5 separate regions of the Homo sapiens genome follow, and all the other regions are linked to region 5. The links are contacts of gene promoters, found by promoter capture Hi-C in blood cells and fetal thymus (Javierre and others, 2016). All regions are on one chromosome and are shown on one strand. The core of a region is centred on a gene start or on the middle of the fragment in contact, and the rest is flanking DNA. Distances in the headings are between cores, read along the strand shown. Region 1 overlaps LOC105369875 (a long non-coding RNA gene). Region 2 has its middle 430 kb from the start of SLC6A15. Region 3 has its middle 520 kb from the start of SLC6A15. Region 4 has its middle 440 kb from the start of SLC6A15. Region 5 holds the start of TMTC2 (transmembrane O-mannosyltransferase targeting cadherins 2).

Region 1 (4,587 bases), core at 1,322-3,821, 1.8 Mb after region 5:
TTCTTTCATTTTTAGTCAATTAATAATAGAAAATACCAAATGAACTTATGGTGAAATGATTTCTAGGCAAAATGTTGAAAGTTTGAACTTCCTGCTACATAACATAACTACCCACAATAAATTGATAAGCTCAAAAAGATTTGAACAGATTGCAAGCAGAATTAGAGGTAATGGAGAGAACCCAGAACATTATGGATGGGAAAATAAAAGTCTCTTATTTCCTATCTCTTCAGTCATAAAATATTCTCAAACTAAGATACAGCCTTAAAACACAGAAATAATCAATGTCAAAGGAATCATTTTAATAACATTTGTGAAATAATTAAGATGACATCTAGTTAATCTTTTCATTTGGGCCAAGTGACTTACAAAAGGAATAAGTACATGGTTTTGCTGAAGGTCATGGTGCCTACATTACTTGTACTTATATCTAGAAGGAAAGAAATGTATCTAAAAATATGAGTATAGATTGTGGTAAATAAAGTTGACTGAAATCAAATACGTAGAAAGCCCACGAAAATTTTAAAAGAAATGTAAAAAATGTTTACAAGATTTACGTTTCTTTTAAAAAACGAAATGTAAATCATGCTTTGACTGAGATGGTTCAAGATGAGAAAAGTTATCTTGGTCTTCAACTTTCTATAGGCACGAAGAAGAATAGAAAAAAGTGGTTCATCCACCAAAAGGCATATTTTACAATTCTCTAGGAATGGCCAAAGAAAACTATGAAAAGAGAAATACGTTCCTGAGGGCAGATCAAAGAACCTCGGAGAATAATGGAATGGTGAATTAGACCCAGGAAGCAGAATCAGCATGTAAAATGCATTTTATACCTCACAGATACCAAGACATAGCATCGTTTGTCCAACAGGATTTCACAAAGTTTATGAATAATGGATAAGCGACTAATACATATCTCAAATGTACTAAATTTGAGTTGTTATTGAGAATATACTTACCCTTTCCTACCATTGCATGTTGGGAGAATGTTTCCTCTTAAATTCATAAATCATTGAATCATGAAGAACTCATCTAAACTTGTTATAGATTGTAGGATCTTAAACTTCAGGCCTGCTGATGTGATTAGATTAGGTGTCCTGAGATGACTGTGTTTTACTAAGTTTTTAAATATTATGATTATGACCAGGAGAATACACTGCTTTCAAAGGAATTATTGGTGAACATTCTCTATTCCTCCTTGTGTCTGTGTGCTTTGATAGATAATTTTGTAGTTTTTCTCATTAAAAAAAAAAGGGTTAAGTGCACTTCTGTTGGCTTTGGTCAATGATGAGGATGGAAGTGACAGTGTGCTAGTTCTGCACATAACCTTATGTGGCCTCAAATGATTACTGCTTGGTCATCTGTGCTTTGCTAACACTCTTTTAAAAGCATGGTTAAGCTGACCCACAGATCCATGAGAATAAATAAGTTTTGCTTTGAACCATTCAGTTTTGGGGTGTTTTTTATATAGCATTGTCATGGTACTAGCTAACCGATACAAATATAACCTTACAAATGAATCAAAGGATGAGACATTTACATTATAATTTTTATAACATACACTTAAGTTGTTTTTCAAGATGACTTTATCAATTTATTCTCCTCTTAGCATTACTGAGAAAATCATGTATCTCACATTCTTACATGCTGACAGTGTCGTATTTTTATTTTCATGTCAATCAAATGAATGATTAGTTAGCTCCTGTTCAAATTGAGTATTCAGATTTCTAGTGATTTTCAGCACCTTCTGTGAATTCAGTTCTCATATTTCCACATTTTAAAATAATTTGCCTTTTTGTTAACGTGTGGGAGTTTTGCTGTAATTATTTTTACATAATCAAATTGCTATTACTTTATTGAGCAGTGCAAATTCTATATGCTTTTCTGAGAATGCAGATTTTGTCATCAAGTGGTAAAATAATTGCTTTATGCAGAAGTATATAACTTTAGTGTAGGCAAGTTTATAGTTTATTATTTTAGATTTTGGGTCTTTTAAGAAAATTTTCGTGTACCATAATGTCTAAAAGTATTTTTATATTTTCTTTCAAGCTATTTTTTTTTTTTGTAATTTTGCCTTAGAAATGCACATATTTACTATGGGTTGAATTTCATCCCTCCAAAATTATATGTTGGGATTCTAACGCCTATTCTCTCAGAATTTGACCTAATTTGAAAAGTGTTATAAATGAAATTAGTTAAGTTAAAATGAGGTCATTCTGGAGTAGGGTAAGGTCTTAGTCCAATATCACTAGTATCCTTAATAAAAAAAAAAAAAGGGGGGGGCGGAATTTGAAAACAGAGACAGAGATGGACAGGGAGAATGCCATGTATGATACAGCTGGGAGTCCAGGACAGCTAAGGATTAATGGTCACCCAGTGGACCCAGAAGACAAAGCATGGGGCCACAGAGGATGAGTCTCAGGCCTTGAAATCTGACAGAATTTGCTCTGTTGGTGTTTGAACTTGTTCAGGGACTGTAATGTCTTTATTTCTTCTAATTTCTTCCTTTTGGAATGTGGATATTTATTATATGCTTGTCTCCCTATTTAACGTAGAAGGTGATAACTTGTCTGGTGTTACAGGTTTACAGGTAAAGGGAGATTTTTGCTCCAGGATGAATCATACATCAAGTCTCACCCACACTGGTTTAAATGATTTAGATGATGAGACTTTGGACTTTGAACTGATGATATTTAGATAAGACTTTAGACTTAGAGTTAATGCAGGATCTTGGAGATACTGGGATTGATGGATATATTTTGCACAGGGGAAGGACACAAATTTTGGAGAGTCGGGAGGTAGACTTATTATTGGTGGGTGAGTCGGCAACTATCCAGAGAACTCCAGAGTGACACCTCTGCAGGAATCTCAGTCCCTTGTCTTGGACCTCAGCTTCACTTCACTTAAGTATAGTGTATCTGGATGGCAACCTCTGGTACTTTAATAGCTATGGGAGTAGATAATAGAACAGTGAAGGGGACCTTCCAGACCTTCCAGTTAGTTGGGATTTCAGGGTTCCATCCTTCCAACCTTTCATGAGAACTAGTGAGCCTGGAGGGTATAAAGTCTGAGCTTTTTCCTCTTTCAATTTTGGGTTTATTTGTAACCAGTATTCCCGGAGGCCTGTTGGAAGCCTGCCATAGAACAGACATACTGGGTGACTTTGGTAGTTTCTTCATCTAGCAATAAGTCAGAATATAGGAATGGTCTATCATATAAGGCCTACTAGGGGCTTAATTGTAAAGAAGCCTTAGGGGCAACATGGATTCAAAGGAGGGCTAGAGGTCAGAGGTCCACCCATGACTTGCTGTTTCCTGACACAGTTTATTGAGGATGTGTTTGAGGGCTTGGTTATTTCCTTCCACCTTTCCTGAAGATTGTGGTCTCCAGGCAGACTAAAGGTATCATTTCATGCCAAGGGCATTACTAACCTGTTGAGTCATTTGGGGAATTAAGGATGGGCCATTGTCATTTTGCAATGACCTAGGAAGCCAAATCGGGGAATAAGTTCCTTGAGGAGGAATTCAGCTACTTAACTGTGCCTTCTCAGTCTTTGTGCAACAGGTCTCTACCCATCATGTGAAATTATCTACACAGTTTAAGAGGTAATTATATCTATGGCATGTGGGGATCTGAGTGAAATCCATCTTCCCATCTCCAGGGTATTTACCTCTTCTTTGGATCGGACTTATTAATGGAGGAGGCTTCCCTCTCTGGGGATTATTTATGGCACACAAGGAGCAAGCCTGACAAGCCTTCTCAATAGCCTTGTTCAGTCCCCTCCTGCTAAACACCCACTTACAAATTTTCCCTAGACTGTCCTTTCCAAAGTAGCAGGAGTCATGCAGACTCTGGATGACCTTCCACTGGGAGGCCTTTGGCAGATGGAAAAGTGCCCCCAGGCTGTACCATCCATTGGTTTCTTTTTGATATCCCTGTTGGGTGGTCCAAATCTATTTCTTCCTGGGTGTACTGGAGTGGGGGTAGTTCAGTGGGGAGAGAAGGGAGCAAGGCTCCCAGAAATGTAAACTTTGGAACAGTTGCTTCTTTAGTTTTCTGGTCAGCCAAACTATTTTCTTGTGCGGTTTCATCGTGGCCCTCTGGTGTCCCTTGTAGTGCACTACTGCCACCTTCTGGGGCAAATGAACAGACTCTAGCAGCTCTAAGATTTGAGGCCTGTACTTAATAGGAATATTCCCTTTCCTTCCAGATAGCTGCCTGGGTGGGAAGGATCAAAGAAGCATGTTTGGAGTCTGTATAAATGGTTATTCTTTTTCATTCCCCTAGTTTTAGGGCTCTGGTTAGCATAGTGAGTTAAGCTCTAGTTAACTGAGGTCCCTGGGGATAAAGCTCTAGCTTCGGTCACTTGGTAGAGGTACACCAAAGCATTATCCTGCATGTCTAGTTCCATTCCAGACAAAACTGCTTCCATCTGAAAATCATATTTTGATGGGATTTCCCAAGGGTTGGTCCTTTAAGTCAGCCCTGCTGGCATAAATTTGGCTGAGTACTTCACAGCATGAATGTGCCAGGTTATTGTCTCTTGGTAGGGGCAAGAGGGTGGCTGGGTTGAGGGTCTAGCACCAC
Region 2 (4,530 bases), core at 562-3,061, 1.8 Mb after region 5:
CTCAATAATTTATTCAAATAATATTTGTTGAATTTCTATATGTGCCAGAGAGGATCTAAGATATTGTTGACAATAACACAAGGCATTTTTAAGCTGATCGTTAGAAGAAGGCAGCCATCATTGGTGTAACAGAATAGTAATCCCAGTGTGATGGTTAATATTGAGTGTCAACTTGATTGGATTGAAGGATGCAGAGTATTGTTATTGGGTGTGTCTGTGAGGGTGCTAGCAAAGGAGATTAACATTTGAGTTAGTGGAATGGGAGAAGCAGACCCCACCTCAATCTGGGTAGGCACTATCTAATCAGCTGCCAGTGTGACTAGAATAAAGCAGGCAAGGAGTTGGAAAGACGAGACTTACTGAGTCTTCCAGCCTTCATATATCTCCCATGCTGGATGCTTCCTGCCCTTGAACATCAGACTCCAAGTTCTTCAGCTTTTGGACTCTTGGACTTACACCAGCGATTTGCTAGGGGATTTCAGGCCTTTGGCCACAGACAGAAGGCTGGACTGTCAGCTTCTCTATTTTTGAGGTTTTGGGACTCAGACTGGCTTCCTTGCTCCTCAGCTTGCAGACTGCCTATTGTGGGACTTCACTTTGTGATCATGTGAGTCAGTACTCCTTAATAAACTCCGCTTCATATATACAGCTATGCTATTAGTCCTGTCCTTCTAGAGAACCCTGACTAACACACCCAGCAAATATTCTAATGTGTAAATTCATTTGGTGTGTTCGGCATCACAAATGAGGCCAGTGGGAAGTACTCAATGGGGTACAATATATGGAGATGAGCTAAAGAGACTGGCATGTGTTATACAATATAGGGCTTTAGATCATGCTATGAAATTTGTTCTTTCTTTTAATATCACTGGGAAGAAATTGGAAATGTTATGCAATACATAATTTTTTTTAATTTTTAGAAAAATGTACTGAATACCTGCTCTGTGCTAGTTCATATCTTTTAGTGCTGGGATGCGATGGAGAATAAAAAATATTTTCTACTTGTCTTTTATAATACATTCTCAGAAAAAAATAGGCAATAAATAAATAACCAAGCAATTTTGAAATAAAATATTAGGTAATAATAAATCTCATGCAAAGAAATGACAAATGATTATAAGCAAATAAATGACTTTTAGAACAGTGATCTTGGATAAGTCCACCTTAGTTGAGAGTGTAGCAAGAAAAGAAAAGAGATGAGAATAGAAGAAAGGAAATCTCAACAAGATCCTCTCAATTGAGAGGAAAGAAGAAAGCCCAATTTGAATAGTTTGAGAACAGTATAAAGTGGTGAAAAGCGTAGGTCTAAGTTTATGGATAACGTTGTGAAAACTTTTCCTGGGGATGGAAAAAATATGTGGTAGCTTGAGTTGGACAGGCATGTGGAATCCAAGGCATTTTTCTTATGGTTCTATTATGTACTTTGTTCACTGATGAAAGATGTTCTTAATGGTGGAAAATATGGTGACATGGCAAAGAACAGAAATAATTTTAGAGGCCAAATTCTAAATTATGGTTAAGAGAGTGTGTGCCAAGGTAGAAATTGAGGAACTAGCAATCAACAGAAAGAGGGTAACTTCACTGTAACAGAAGAGACACCTCCAATTAAGTAAGAATAGCTTCACAAAATTAACAGATACAAAGTGAGCTCACTTGGTTTCCTTCAATCTCATTCTATTTCCTACCTCAATAAGTTGCTAGAATTAACTAATTGTCCAAGACAGAAAAACAAATGACAATCTTGAAATCCCTTTCCCTAATCACTAAAACCTAACAAAACCATCTATATTTTCCCTAAACCCCCCACATTCAGTGAGCCATACTGGTGAGGTGGGGATAGGTTTTTAACAAGGTCTGAGTATCAGCACTTGGGGATGCTTCCTTGTGACAGTGGCTGCTCTTTACACCTGCAGTTTTTATATTCATTAGTGTTCTCTTTACTTCTTACTGGTCAATTGCTCATTACTCCAGTTCCCTCTTTTAGTTAATAATTCTATAAAATAAAATTTCCTCTTCAAACTTCTATGTAAATTCTCTTTCCCAATTTTAATCTGACTATAAATCCATAAACATGAAATTCTAAACCAGAGTTACTAAAGACAGATTCATTTTTCTTTCCACTAGATGTAATATTTATTCTATATTGACCAACATTCTATATTTTCATTGAACTGTGAACTTCTGATTCATATTAATGTGTTGCTTAGTGATCAGAACTTTTAAAATGATAATGCTTATTACCTATGTGGATCTAAGTTTTGTCATGCAGTTTACTTAGTGATTAGAAAAGTCATTCACTTAATAAATGTTGAATGCGCACTTGTCATATTATTGTATTGTTTTAGGTCCTAGAAATAGAGAAGTGAATTAAACAGATAAAGTCTCCAATCTCAATAATTACCTCTGATTTAAAAACATAGAGCCATAAGTTCTACTACTGACGTTTCGGGTGCCACAGCAATTTTGGGGATGTGTATAGGCTGTGAGTTCTTAGGATCATAAACACTCATGTGAAAAATTCATACATTTCTATAAACTGTATTATTTAACATGTCATATTTTCTACACCTACGAAACCTGCACCAGCTAAGTTTATACATACTACCAGTAGAAATAAAAAGCTAACAAATATGGAATTATATGTTACAGTTTCTTTGGGATTTTTAAAATCATATACTAAAGAACATAAAAAAGGGGTTTGGCTCCTTTTCTTTAAGAAGAGAAAGATTACGGTACCTACAGTGATGTTTTTTATTCACGCAAAGTCACATTCAAAATGTGTATTATACTATGATGCAAGTTTGTAAGTTTCACCTATGGCAGATGAGAAATCCTTATGGGCTATATTGCCCATAGCTACTTCTATCCCATTCTGTTTCTTTTTGAAAATTATTATAAAAGAAGGATTATTTCTGCTCAGAACTAATGATCAACTTAAAAATGTTTTCATAAAAGTTCCCTATTTTTGTGGAAGTTACTAAAACCTTGATCTTTACACCACTATATTATAAAGATAATTGCTTGTGATTAATCTGCCTGATAGGATTGAAGAGATAACAGTTATATGATTAAAATATGTTTAATTAAAAATATATAAATTATAATCAAATAACATGCAAATTTTTGCACTTTATGTTCATGTTTTATTATGTTATTTTATATTATTCTTTTTAAATGTGAATGAATATTGGCATTCAGTTTTGCAATCGCAAATGTGACATTTTAAAGAAATATATGGTCAGTCAGGCTCAAAGATCAGCTTCCAGTCCTTTACACCAAGTTTCTCCTTCTTAAATTTTTTGTTAAAATCAACATTTTCTCTTACTATGATATTTTGCATCTTACTCTTAGAGGCCATCTTCTTATATTATTTAGAAGATGCTAAACCACTGTCTAACAATTTTTTCCCTGTAATAAAGTATTGTCAAAATTTTCATACAAAACTATCCAACAAGCCACTATTTGTTCCTCTTTCTAAATCAGATAACATAATTTTATCAACATCTAAGCAAAGAAATAGTATCTACTACTACATATTTATATTATAAAACTCATTTCCCTTCACATCTTATTTTGTTAGCCACATTTGAATTTTTGGTAGCATCATTGTCTCAAACATCCAGGATTGAATCATTTCATCTACAATTTCTCTCTTTTTCTTATTTTCCACATGTGCTAAATTTTATATTCCACTTTAATCACACACTTTCCATCACCACACCATCATTACAAATCCTTACATAATTTATGCACAGTCATTATGTCCTGGGTACCCAGCACTGTTGGAGCTGGGGATGCCTTTTGAACCTATAGCCTAGTAAAGCAGTCTTTTTGAGTCTCTGGATATTTTTCTGCTTATTTTCTATGATGTTTTATTATAAGTCTGTTAAGTTTCCTTTACTTATTATTACTAGTTTTTATCCAGGAGAAACCTCATCTGTTCATTTGCTGAAGAGAAGAGTTAATTAAGCTTTTTTAGCTTGCTAGTTTGATTTTGGGTAATTCATTGTGCACTTAGGTGGGGGTGAAGTCCATCTCCAAACTACATGTGAAAAGCAGTGTAATATGCAGCTTCTCAGTTCAACTGCCAACTATGATTATTCTCCTGTCCCCATTGCCTGGGTCTCAAGCACTGAAAGGTAGCAAATGAGAGTTCATATAATTTTGACCACACACTGTCCAGACTTTTCGGCCTCTTACTTGTCTAAAGAACTTTATTGTTAAATTTTACACCTTTCAGGAAGCAATATGGTATCACCAAACACTTGATATTTCCTGCCACATTAATTGGTAGAAGTTGCATTTTTTGAAAAGATGTCAAGTAATGTTGGAGAGACAAGATTAAGTAACAGTCACCTAGAACAGATGTTTACTTTAAAAAGGTAGCAGCAGGAGAGAGAAGAAAGATGATTCCCAAGTTTTCTGTTTGGCACAAACTCTGATTTTTCTGAATCAAGAGGAGAGAGTGGAAAACAAACAAACAACAACAAAAACCACTCATGGCACCATGTCTCATGAGGTGATGAGACA
Region 3 (4,548 bases), core at 1,996-4,495, 1.7 Mb after region 5:
TCGGGACTCCAGAGCTGAGTGGCTTTCCTCTCTGTGGACCCTCAGCTCAGCCCAGAAGTACAGGAAAAGCGGAAGCTGGTTTCAGGCAAACCAACACTCCCAAGTCCAAAGAGTCAGGGGTCGTTAGGGAGCCCTTTCCCAGAAAGCCTGACACCTGTGTCTTTAATCCAGCGACCATGCTAGTCACTTTTAACTGGCTGACAGGTGGCTGCTATTTAGTCCCCTAATTCTTAGGAAAAATAGGACAGAATAGCAAGTGAAAGGGGTCCAATGGTACTCAATGATTGGTGATAGTCCCATCTGGGTCACCAAAATGTGCCCAGAATTTATTCCTTCCAGTGGGTTCTTGGTCTCGCTGACTTCAAGAATGAAGCCGTGGACCATTACGGTGAGTGTTACAGCTCTTAAAGATGGTGTGTCCGGATTTTGTTCCTTCAGATGTTCAGATGTGTCTGGAGTTTCTTCCTTCCAGTGGGTTCCTGGTCTTGCTGACTTCAAGAATGAAGCCACAGACCTTTGTGGTGTTGCAGCTCTTAAAGGTGGTGTGGACCCAAAGAGTGAGTAGCAGCAAGATTTATTGTGAAGAGTGAAAGAACAAAGCTTCCACAGCATGGAAGGGGACCTGAGCAGGTTGCCGCTGCTGGCTCGGGTTGCCAGCTTTTATTCCCTCCTTTGGCCCCACCCACATCCTGCCGATTGACCCATTTTAAAGAGTGCTGATTGGTGTGTTTACAATCCTTTAGCTAGATACAAAAGTTCTCCAAGTCCCCACCTGACCCAGAAGCTTAGCTGGCTTCACCTCTCAATGTGACTGAATTATAAATATAACTTGAAGACGAAATCTAGCATTACAGGCAGAGTAAATGTGTGGTGTGGAAAAAACGTAGTTAAGGAATAAATCAAGTGTTTTGGGCTGAGCATATGAACTGTATCAGTTAGCCAAGACAGAGGCACTGATGGAAGAGCAGATCAGGTGGCTGTGATGGTGTTCATAAAGAAATTTAGTTGCAGAAACTGCTGTGTCTTAAATATATACCTAAAAACCAGATTTATATTCTAGCTAATACATATGGGAAAATGCATTCATTTCTTATTTTGTGATTCTTTTTCTTTTTGAGGGAGTGATTTCTGTCCTTCTGTTCACTTGATAGTGCAATATTTTTCTTTTCTATGTTTAATTTTCTTCAAATTGTCTTTGCAGTTTCATTTTTACCCTCTGTTTCCTTTTGCTCCCTTTCAGCATATTTTCATTAACATTTATATTTTATCTGAATTGAAATGGATTTACTCCATCATTGAGGAACACAAATGCATGGCATTTCCTATTTTATACCATTAAGTAAATCTCCTGAGTATACTACTACTTATTTTTAAACCATGTTTACCCAATTATCATCTCTCTCTTCTATCACATTTCTTAGCAAAACAAATATTATTATCTATTATTCATCCACACATCCCAATACTCTTTTAAAATTTTGCATGTTATGCTTGGGTACAGAAGAGTACTATTAAACTGGGAGTACGTTAATTAATTTTACTCCATGAAGGCATTGCTTTAAACATATGATTAATATCAGCCTTCTACTCTTTTCCTTAATCAATATGTAAAAATTTCCTGACCATATGAAACAAGAAAAAATTAAGTAGCATTCATAAATTACATAGTTTGGTATAACTAAGTAAAACATTTTTGTATATACCTTGTGGCATTTCTAAAACCACTTCCCCAATACACTAGCTGATTTCAATTCAGCTCTTTTTACATGAAATTCTTGCCAGCAAATGTAGCTGGCACTTGATTTGTCCTTCTCTTTTCAATTCCCGCCTCCCTCAGAGATGCAGAAATGAAATTTCAAGTCACAGAAGTGTACTTCCACAGCTTTCATTATTTTTTGAAAGGCCATATTTCACAAATATAGATTCCTACTTTTCTATCCACTTTATATTTAGTCTGTCTTCCAAAGGTTCTCTCCTCTCTTTTTCTAGTAATTTCCAACAAGCTTCACATTCATTACCCACATTGAGAGAGCATTACACAACTAATTTTTCTATGAAAATCCTAAACCAAAATTCAATTATATAAGGAACAAGAAATTATTTCAATTGGATGTCTGATTAAAATGACTCCTCAGGTGACTCAAAAGTTTAATATTATGGTTTTTAGCAGACAGAGTCTGAATGTCTAACAATTTTAAGTAGAAATGAGAAAAAAAATTCCTGGATCAGATTAGCCTCAAGTTAAACATGCCAAATTTCATTAATAAATGTTCTCAACATTTTGCTATCTAAGCTATTTTCATTGTTTTTTTTTTCCTTTTTCAGATAATATTCATTAAAAACAGGTGGGATTTTGAAATATAAAGCCTATGAGAATTTAAATGTATCTCGGGAGAATAAGGATATAACATTATAAGAATGTTCCCTAAACTGCGTTCTTCAGTATTGTATACATATTCCAGCAAATTTATAGATTTTCAATAAAAGTTTTGATAAGTCCTAATTTTAACAAAAGCCTTCAATTATTGCTATCTAACATAAAGGTAGAAAATGTAGTTGAGATTATTTGAAAGAAATTATGAACAGGTGCTTTATAACACAATTTTATTAAGTGTTTAATCAATGCATTATTAAAACATTATAGTTTATAATGCCACCTAGTGGATTTCTGAATAAAAAATGCCCCTTGAGTATAACTAACATATAATATGAAACATATGCATAAAGAATGGTAATCCAATTTTCCTATATATTTACATATCTTTCTCTCTCTTTTTCTTTCTCTAATATTCACCCTGAAATATTAAGTATTTACCTTGAGCTATAAAGCATTAAACATTTAAAAGTATTAAATCAAAACAGAAAGAAAATAAAATGTATTTCTTAGAAGTTTCTTTTTTAAGTTTATCATAAGTATAAAATGTTTGAATTGGATTTCAGAAGCAACATGTAAATACTTGGGACACTTAATTATAAATAATTCATGTAAAAAGATTAAAATAATGAAATGGCAGTATATATATTTATAGTACAATATAAGTCATTATAAGTTAAAGCTGTAATTTTTAACTCCATGTGAAATTGCCTTGGTAAGTATAAAATTGTGATTTGCAAACCTGGCTGTGTATCAAAAATCTTCTGATTAAAAGTTTCCAGAGATGAGGTCCAAGAATGTGTATCTCTTCAAAGCTCTGTAAGTTATTATGATACACAATAATGGCTGATAATGCTGCTGTAAATCATTATCTAGACACAGAGACTAGTTTCCAGATTGTCCAAAACTGGACAAACAAAACCTACTACAGAATATTGTCTTAGTGTGGTTTATTTTGTGGTTAGATATATATTTAGCATGACAATATTCACTAGTTCTGCTTTTATGACCATTTTAAATACTATTGTACTCTAACATGTTTTTGTCCATTCTCCTTCCCTTTCTTTGCAATTTTGCTGGATCACCTAATTAATTTCAGTCGTTTCTGGTACTCTCTCAATATAAATATCTTCAAAATGTATATAACAACTCATTTCTCCGTCTTACCTCCCAAACTGGTATATGAAATTGCCTTCTAACCATCCTCAGATATTCAGAGTCCTCAAATGTAAAGTACTCCTATTCCATCTCTAACCCCAATAAAAAGTATCAAAATTTCTGCCTTCCCTATTTTAGGGAACATAACCAGCATCCACAAAAATTAAACAAGAAACAAAGTCCAAATCTCACACTTTCATTTTCTGACCTCTCGTAACTTAACAGTCCTTAAGTCACCTTAATTATGCTTCTTAAATTTTAAAGCATGTAAGTCTTTCTCACCACATAACTACCTTAGCTCAGACCTTCCACATGTCTCTCTCTGAACTTGGAGTCAATTGTTTCCCTCCAATCTGTCTATTCCCTTTACTTCATAGAGTGATATCAAAGTGATCATACTAAAATATAATATTTTTATTTCAGTAAAGTTTCAGAATACAAAGTCAATGCACAAAAATCAGTACCATTTCTATACACCAATAACATTCAAGCTGAGAACCAAATCCAGAATATAATCCCGTTTACACTGGCCACCAAAAAACAAACAAACAAACAAACGAACAAACAAATGAAAAAACCTAAGCATACAGCATAAATCATATATGACAAACCAATGGAAAAACATTCCACGTTTATGGCTCAGAAGAATTGATATCATTAACATGGCCATATTGTCCAAAGCATCCTACAGATTCAGTGCGATTCCTATCAAACTAACAATGTAATTTTTTGCAGAATTGAAAAAAAAAAGTTCACATGGAACTAAAATTCCAACTAAAATTCACATGGAACAGAAAAACAACTGGAAAGCCAAAGCAATATTAAGCAAAAAGAACAAAGCCAAACCCAAAGGCCAAATTCAAACTACACTATAAGGCTATAGTAACCAAAACAGCATGGTAGTGATACAAAAACTAACACATAGACGAATGGAACACAATACAGAACCCAGAAAAAAAGCTTCAAACCTACAGCCATTCTGATATTCAGCAATGTCAACAAAAATAAGCAATGGA
Region 4 (4,383 bases), core at 43-2,542, 1.8 Mb after region 5:
CTTCCAGACGTGCAATATAGATTCAAGATGTAACTGTCTGCTGCACATTAATCCTTGTAATTACTGTAGCACCAACCATATTCCTAAACTTAATATACAGATAATTAAATCAAGCTTTGTTTATTAAATAAAATGTCTTTAAAGAATAAAGCAATTATTTATTCTGAATTATGAGTCATTAATAATAGTAACTAACATTGAGTCATTATTGTATGTTATTTATTTATTTATTAGGTGAAGTCTCTCTCCCTCATCCAGGTTGGAGTGCAGTGGCACGATCTCAGCTCACTGAAACCTCCACCTTCTGGGTTCAAGCGATTCTCCTGCCTCAGCCTCCCGAGTATCTGGGATTAGAATCGCCCACCACCACGTCTGCTAATTTTTGTACTTTTAGTAGAGACAGGGTTTCACCAGGTTGGTCAGGCTGGTCTTGAACTCCTAACGTCAGGTAATCCAACCACCTCGGCCTCCCACAGTGCTGGGATTAGAGGTATGAGCCACTGCGCCCAGCCTATTGTATGTTAAAATTCTATATCTGATACTCTCAATATGTGCTACACACCATACTAAGGCCCTTGGGGGAATAATGGTGACCAGAACATTCTCTAAGTAGAATAGAGATCACAGTTTAGTGGAATAAATAATGCTAAACAAAGGAACAAAACAAAAGTAAATATTGGCAGATTTTAAAAATGTATCTGAAGGAATAATAGTTTAATGAGAGAGAATAAAAAAACTGAGCATGAGTGGTCAGGAAAATATAATTTGTGAACCAAAACTAACGGGAATAAAAATGGTCATGAGAAGATCTAGAGGAAAAACATCACAAGTGGGGTCAAAAGGCAAGTAGATTTTGATGAAGGTAAGAGCATGATAGGTTTTTTAATATGACAGAGGGCTGACGTGAACAGAGCAAAGTAAGAAAGTAGAAGTGGGAAGGGCCAGTTAGGCAGGGTCTCATAGGATCTGCCAAGAGGTTTGAATTTTATTATAATGGTAGTAGAAAGACAATATTTTTTTTTAAGGAGGCATAGGTTAGTATTTTAATCTTTGCATTTTCTAAAGTATATTTGACAATCCATCATTCATGATGTTATGCATATTTAAAATAATTAGCTTTGCTCATAAAATTTAAAGTAGGTACACATCGTCCTACTTACATTTGCAAAAGCTTTTGTGACTTGCAATTATACCAATTTCCAAATGAGCCTATGCCACTATTCTTTATGAACATTTCAAATAATAGCTCATTATGAATGCTCATCAACAAATAGGAAGTTTCAAATAAGAATATTCCATCATACTTATTTTTAAATTTATTTGTGTGAAGTCTATGGATGTCTTCTATAAAATAGGCCCTGAATTTTTAGAGAAATGAAGTCCACAGCTTTCTGAGCAGCATTCTTTTATAAGGAAAGCTTTTCTTTTGTTCTTCTCTTACTTTTTAGTTGTTATTTTAATTTAGCAAAAGTATGGACTTGCATATTTTTTCTATTTTGAAATCAATATATTAGATTTAGATTTCATTTTAGTCATTATTCATTTTGATAATCATATTTGTCCAGTTGAGCTGTTTAATCTGACTCCAATGTTGTCTTTTTGACAGATCTCCACTAGTAGGGAGAATTTTCTCACTTTCTTGGACAATAAAATATTCCAGTTAACTTTCAAATTTCACTGTCCCAGACCTGAAACCAGTCATTTCTACTACAAGCACTATTAGTTTAAGTAGGTAGTAGTATCTAGATTTGCCTCAAATATTGCTCATTGCTGATAAGGTGTCTGTTTTCATGCCTTTTTATAATGACTTCACTTCAATGCCTTTAAGTCCAAATCAAATCATAATTCAATATCACTCTTCCTCTCTTTTTCCCACTCCACATTTTTATCTTTTCACCAGAATATGAGCAATTGTTCACAAGAATGTTAATGTTTATTTACTTCTTACTGTAATAAACAAATTTAGCTTAATGTTTTGATGTATAAGATAATAAAATGGTTCTAAATTCAAAATCATTGGAAAAATATATTCAAAAAAAGTGTATCCACATATTTAACACTTCCAATTCACCTCTTGTATTTTTATTAGTTTCCAAAGCCTATTGTTTTTGTATAAACAACTACTTTAAAATATAGTTTCATTTTCATTTTTAATAAAAAGCATATCATATAAGCTGTCTTACCCTATTTTTTAACTTAATAGTATAGCCTGAAAAGCTCTTTATATCAGTTCACAAATATTTTTCTTAATTCTTTATAGCTGCATAATGTTCCAATGCATAAATGTAACTATTTTTCCAGTCAATAACCTATGTATCTTTCCAGATGATTTTCAGGATATTTATAGGAAAATTGCTCCTATAAATAAATGTGTGCCTATGTTTTTATTGTGGTTATTTTCCTTAGTGTATGTTTATTTTTAGGATAAAATTCCTAGAAGCAAAATTGCTAGACCAATGACTAAAAGCAAATGTAGTTTCATAAAATTTTTCCAAAATTCCTCCATAAGGATTGTACCATTGTTCACGCTCACCAGAAATCTATGAAAGTTTGTCTTTTACTTTTCCAGTCTTGTTAGCAAAATGTGTGGTCAGGCTTTTGAAACTTGACTATCTAAAAGGTGAAAAACACATACTGTAATTTTAATTTACATTTATCTTACTATAAGTGAGGTTGAGCAACTTTACATTTATTTTAGGATCAACCGTGGCCATCTATGTTTTTGGCTTATTTTTCTAATACATTTTGGGTCTTCAATCCTCAATTACTTTAATGGTGTTTATTTTGATAGAGAGCTATAGTTTATATGTAAAGAAATGTTAAGATCTTACTTGTACAGTTTCAAGAGACTTGAGGAATATATACTCAGTTATTGCCACCACAGTCAAAGTAAAGAACACTTTCAGCATCCCAGAAAGTTCCCTCCTGACTCTTTCTAGTTAATGGCAATGTCTGCTCCCCAAGGCAAACTATATTTTGACTTTAAATAGCATATGTAACATATGTATTTTTTTGAATTTTATATAAATAGAATCATACTCTGTAACTCTTTTGGTTGGGCTCAGCATTATACCTGTGAGATTAATCAGTGTTCCTCCCTAAAACTTCAATCCCTGACCCTCATGCCTTGGGGCAACAAGTGTGTCAGTAGCTTATTCCTTATATGGCTGAGTGGTATTCCATGAGCAGTTTATCCCTTCTGCTGTTACTTGTTTCCAAATTTGGGGTACTCTAAATTAAGCTACTATTTAACATTCTCATACAGGTCTTTATTGAACATATGCTTTTATTTCTCTTTGATAAATATTTAGGAAAGCCATATAAGAAATTTTTATGTTGGCATGATGTGGAAAAAAGGAAATTCATACACTGTTGATGGGAAAGTAAGTTAGTAAAACCTCTGTGGAAAAGAGTATGGAGATTTCTCAAAGAGCTAAAAATGGAACTATTGTTCAATCTAGCAATCTCACTACTGGGAATCTGCCCAAAAGAAAATAAAATGTATTGTTAAAAATACGCCTGGATTCATATGTTTATTACAGCACTATTCAAAATGCAAATATATGGAAACAAGTGACCATCAATGGATGATTGAATAAATAAAATATAAAATACACCATGGAATAATATACACAATGGCATACAATTCAACCATGAAAAAGAGTAAAATCATGTATTTTGCAGCAACAGGGATGGAACGGGAAAAAATTCAGACACAGAAAGACCAATATCTGATGTTCTCACTTATAAATGGGAGCTAAATAATGTGTACTAATGGAAGTAGAGTGTAAAATGATAGACAATGGAGATTCAAAAGGGTGAAGGAGTGGGAGGGATGGATGATGACAAATTGCTATGAATATAATGTATGTTATTCAGGTGAGGGATACCCTAAAAGCCTTTACTATATTACTATGCGATCTATGCATGCAACACAATTATACTTTTACTCCATAAATATATTCAAATTTATAAAGAAATTTGTATGAAATTTTGAAATGTTTTTCAGAGTTGTTTCACTGTTTTACATCCCAACAAGCTAGATATGAATATTCTAATTATCCCAAATCTTTAGCAACATTTTGTGTTGTCAGTTGTTTAATTTCAGCTATTCTAATGAATAATTATCATATTTCATTGCAGTTTCATGTTGCATTTCCTTGATGGCTAATGACCTTAACAGATTTTTTATGGACTAATAGGCTATTTGACTATCATTTTTTATAAAATATGTATTCAGATTTTTCACCAATATTTTATTACATTGTCTTTTAATTATTTATCTGTAGTGGGGTTTTTTTATATTCAATATGTTAATTTTTTTATACATACACTGTAAATATTTTCTCTAAGTCTATGTTTTCTCTTTTCATTTGTAAAAAT
Region 5 (4,079 bases), core at 1,486-3,985:
TTAATAACTGAAGAGACCTGTCCATGTGACTCCCCTTCACGGGTATTCCTGCAGACTTGATGTATTCTGAAAAACTGTGAACCTGCTCCCTTCCTCTCTCCTTGGTTAATACTTCACGATCTTTAACACTAACGACAAACAATAAATCAGCGATGAAAATTTTTGGATTTTCCAGCTGTTACGTAGTTTCTCCTAAGCACATTTATTTTGTTCATTTATTAACAATCTTTTTAAAGTTTCTTCTCCGTGTCCAGATGTTATAGGCTCTGGGTTTTATGTGGAAAAGAAGACTGACAGGATCCCTGACCTCATGGAGCTTCCACTCAGTGGTGCTTCCAGATACTAATACATACTATGAAGAAACTAATACATGGTGGTTGGATAGAGATTGATGGGGGAGAGCCTACTTTATTTCTGAGGTTATGCCATTTGAGCTAAGACCTGAATGGTGAGAAGGAGCTAGAGAAGGTTTGAGGAGAAGAACCTCATGCAGGAGGAAGAGAAAGTGGTTAGTTCCTGAGAAGGATGTCTGTGTTGTACACATATGAACACAACATGAAGCGGGAGGGGTAGTCTGGGCTAAATGAAGGCTTGGCTGGCCATGGTAAGAATTAGTTTTATTAGCTGTAAAACAGGAAGTTGTTGGACATTTAAAAATACAACAGGAAGTTGTGGAACATTTAAAAATTGGGAATGTATAGGTTTTCAAAGGAAACTTCTGCCTAAAGTTAAAATTGGGGAAGGGAGGCATTGCAGGGGTAGAAGTACGGGGACCACTTAGAGGGCTACTGCATTTGTCTATGCAGGAGATGAGGGCAGCTGGGCTGTGGACTCAAGTAGTAAAGATGTGATAGGATGTGTTTTGGAGGTAACTGTCCAGGTTTTTGTTAACAAGTAAAATGAAACGAGGAAGCTAGAAAGCATAGTAATAATGATATACTAGCTAATACTTCTGTAGCACTTTCCTGGTCCCTTTTAGATATTTTACATAGGTTAACTACTTTAATACTCATAATAACAGTACTCATAAGATAAGTACTATTATTATCACTGTTTCATAGATTAGAAAACAGAGTCACAAAGAGGTTGAACGACTGGCCAAAGATCGCCCAAATAGTAATAGCAGAGTATGCACTCAAACTTAAACATCTGATCCCACAGTATGTGTTCTTCCTTCAGTGTTCTAGGACACCATATACATATTTTATATATACTATATATATCTCAGCATGTAAGTGCATTGGAGAGACACAGAGCATCAGGATGGACTAACTGATATGATTTTCAAAATTTTCAAGTGAGCAAAGGTTATGGAGGAAAAGGGTAAAAGATCAGTCCCTACCTGTAAAGACATAATTCCTTTTATTTTTGTTTACATATATTTGTCCAGGGCACAAAAAATGTGCTACTGTGGATGGCATAACAGGTATAATATTAATAAATATTCATCATTTTATCTGTGTGTATCCAATACAGATTTCTCAGATTTCCTTGTGAAATCAGGGAAATATGTAGCTTTGTTCTACAGAAGCCCAGACCACGGTATTTTCTTTCCAGGCCACTGCTAGACACCCAGGGGGCTCAATTTCTTGCCACAGTTTCGGAGAGCTTGCTGGTTAGGTGCTGCTCTTGGTTGGAACCAGTCGGCCCGCATGCAAAACAGACCTGTCTTCCACACCTTGTGGTTACTATGCAGCAGGGGGCGCTGCAGTAGTGTACATCGCGGTGCACCGGAGCTACTCTCCTGGCCAGAAAGCCAACAAGCCGGGAGGAGGCGTGTCAGGCAGCCCTGGGTCCTCTTTGGTCTTGCAACTTTAGTACCCAGAGCTTGTTCTACACAGACCATTCTACACCATATTTCACCATGTTGGATGCTTTCCATCCAGTCCTGCCTCCGAGCGGAAAGGAAAGGGCATTAGCTTACTGCCTTACTAGGTTTAAGTATAATGCTGTACCGGCTTGCACTAGAGGTTTCTCTCCTGTGTTCTCAGGGTCAACCCGACAGTCCCTCTGAAACCACGAAGGGGTCCCCGGGCAGTTGCTGCGGGGTGTGTGTGTGTCTTTCTTTCCCTTTTTGGGGTCCTTTCTTTTTAACCTTACTGAAGGAGGAAACGTTTCTCTCCCTACACGTCTTTCCACTGACATTGTGGCCAACCGTAGGCTAAGAGCTGAAATCTCTCCTTCCTAAGTTGCCTCCAAGCTCTCCAATACTACCTCCTCCCCCCCATTTAGTCTCACACACAGTGTGCGTGAGAGATCGCCAGTGAGTTTGTGACAACCGAAGCTGCAGCAGTCGCCAAACCTGTTCTTCCTCTCCCGGTCTCAGAAGTCTCTCCAGCTGACCGGACTTACGCCTGGCAGCTCTTGGCACACACAGCGCTGTGGCTGAGATTCAGCCGTGCCAGGCGCTGCCAGGCAGCAGCGGGGCGACCGACCACCTCCTCCTCGACCTCCTTTCTCCCAGCTTCCCCTCCCAGGGTGCACTGTATCTACTCCTTTGGGCTGTCTTCCAGCCGTCGCCCTTGGGTCCCGGGGGCTTTCCAGAGTGAAATCGAAGGTGAAAGAAACAAGAGGACGGGAGGCTGGTAGGAGGAGCCTCCAGGCCGGGGAGGGTGGGAGGAGCCTCCAGCCCGAGGGGCAGGGTAGGAGGAGCCTTCCGGGAGGATCTGGGTGGAGAAAGGGGCTGGGCCAAGCCGGGATGGAGGGTTGGTCACGCAGGCGCGGGGGGCCGCGTCGAGAACCCCACGCGGGAGCTTCTGGAGTCTCCAGCCACCGCTTCTCACTTCACTGGAGAAGGGAGCTGGGGCTGGGGCTGGGGCTGGGGCTGGGAGGGAGCTAATAAACATTGAATGTGCAGCAGCTGCCTTGGCGGCCGGAGTCCGCCCGAGCGACACCGGAGCAGTGCGCCCGGGAGGCGGCGAGGGGAGGCGGTTCGCCTTGTCCCTCCCACCCGCGCCTCTTTCTCTCTCTTCCTCCAGCTGGTCCCAGAGCCCGGCTTGGTCCGGTCCCTCTGCCCCCATCCCGCACCCTTCCACCTCCTCCGAGTCCCACTCCTCACCTAGGACGCCCCAAACTGCCATGGGTTAGGGTGGGGATCGCGACCCGCGCGAAAGACCAGCCCTGCGCTTCCGCCGGGGGACGCGGAGCCCAAACGCCGCTCACCGCTTGCGGGCGCCGGGCATGGGGAGTGTGGTGTGAGCCCGCACCCGGGGAGGACGCAGGAGCTGCGGAGACGGGCGCGAGGAGGAGGAGAGGAGTCGTGGATTGGAAGGACCCGAGGGAGGGAGGGTGGGGAAGCGAGGGAAAAGTGAAGCTGGGAGGAGAAGGCGGCGGAAGGTGGAGATTGATGCTTCTGTTTTTTGTTGCCGCTGCTGCCCTCGCGCTGGGAGCCGAGCCGGAGGGAAGGCGGTGGAGAGATGATTGCAGAGTTGGTGAGCAGCGCTCTGGGGCTCGCCTTGTATCTCAACACCCTGAGTGCGGATTTCTGCTATGATGACAGGTAAGGGGCCGAGAGGAGGGGGCGACGGGCTGCAGGGGGCACACTCCGCAGTGGCTCTGAAGCTTCCCTCTTTAAGGCTCAAAGTGCGTCTTGGAGGAACTGGTTCAGCACCTGATGGTTTAGGCGACACGTAAACATTAACACCTAAATCAAACACCGGGGACGTGAGGCGCGCTGGGCGGGCCGAGGGAGTTTCCGCTCCTAGTTTGCAGCAGGTTCTCTCCCTTGCTTCTCGGCTGTTGGCAGACGCTTGAGTTTCTTAGCGGAAATCCCGGCAATTTGGGAAACTGTTTAATGAACGTATTAAATTAAAGTCTTAGGTATTCCTTGATGCAACAAAGCACATTAAGTGATTTTACGTCTGGTTGGGAGGAAGCCTCTCCTCGATCCCTGATAGATCCTCCCTGTCCCGTTTCCTTTTATTGATGGGACACTTTTATTTCCCGAAGTTAAAACACACGTTTGATAGTTGCCAAAATTGTGAAAAGGGAGATCGTTCTCTGCTTTAACTTTCCCTTTTAACGTGTATAGACTTTTACTTTGAGCCAAAATAATGCTGCTGATGGTCTCTCCCGCCGCC

The links. Contacts are between HindIII fragments. The CHiCAGO score rates a contact against its expected background, and 5 or more counts as called.
Region 1: a fragment that was not itself captured here is called in contact with the fragment with the promoter of TMTC2 in region 5 in 4 of 17 cell types (endothelial precursors, naive B cells, total B cells and 1 more); the score reaches 12.3 in endothelial precursors.
Region 2: a contact is called between a fragment that was not itself captured here and the fragment with the promoter of TMTC2 in region 5, in 1 of 17 cell types (naive B cells). The highest score is 6.6, in naive B cells.
Region 3: a contact is called between a fragment that was not itself captured here and the fragment with the promoter of TMTC2 in region 5, in 2 of 17 cell types (endothelial precursors and erythroblasts). The highest score is 22.6, in endothelial precursors.
Region 4: a contact is called between a fragment that was not itself captured here and the fragment with the promoter of TMTC2 in region 5, in 1 of 17 cell types (endothelial precursors). The highest score is 5.5, in endothelial precursors.

The regions. Positions count from the first base shown.
Region 1 is chr12:84,499,238-84,503,824 of GRCh38, forward strand. The region is part of intron 1 of LOC105369875 (a long non-coding RNA gene); the gene reads right to left. Among named protein-coding and RNA genes, the nearest start is that of SLC6A15, 410 kb to the right of the region's middle. The HindIII fragment of the contact is 7,736 bases long and covers 1-4,587 here.
Region 2 is chr12:84,483,533-84,488,062 of GRCh38, forward strand. No RefSeq gene overlaps it. Among named protein-coding and RNA genes, the nearest start is that of SLC6A15, 430 kb to the right of the region's middle. The HindIII fragment of the contact is 4,313 bases long and covers 1-3,968 here.
Region 3 is chr12:84,394,843-84,399,390 of GRCh38, forward strand. No RefSeq gene overlaps it. Among named protein-coding and RNA genes, the nearest start is that of SLC6A15, 520 kb to the right of the region's middle. The HindIII fragment of the contact is 2,489 bases long and covers 2,002-4,490 here.
Region 4 is chr12:84,465,887-84,470,269 of GRCh38, forward strand. No RefSeq gene overlaps it. Among named protein-coding and RNA genes, the nearest start is that of SLC6A15, 440 kb to the right of the region's middle. The HindIII fragment of the contact is 247 bases long and covers 1,170-1,416 here.
Region 5 is chr12:82,684,171-82,688,249 of GRCh38, forward strand. TMTC2 (transmembrane O-mannosyltransferase targeting cadherins 2) reads left to right here and starts at 2,736. Exons shown (of 12, transcript NM_152588.3): 1 at 2,736-3,499. The coding sequence starts at 3,417. RefSeq lists silencers at 1,687-1,766, 2,617-2,716, 3,287-3,336, 3,697-3,756 and enhancers at 2,197-2,346, 2,367-2,576. The HindIII fragment of the contact is 3,615 bases long and covers 1-3,559 here.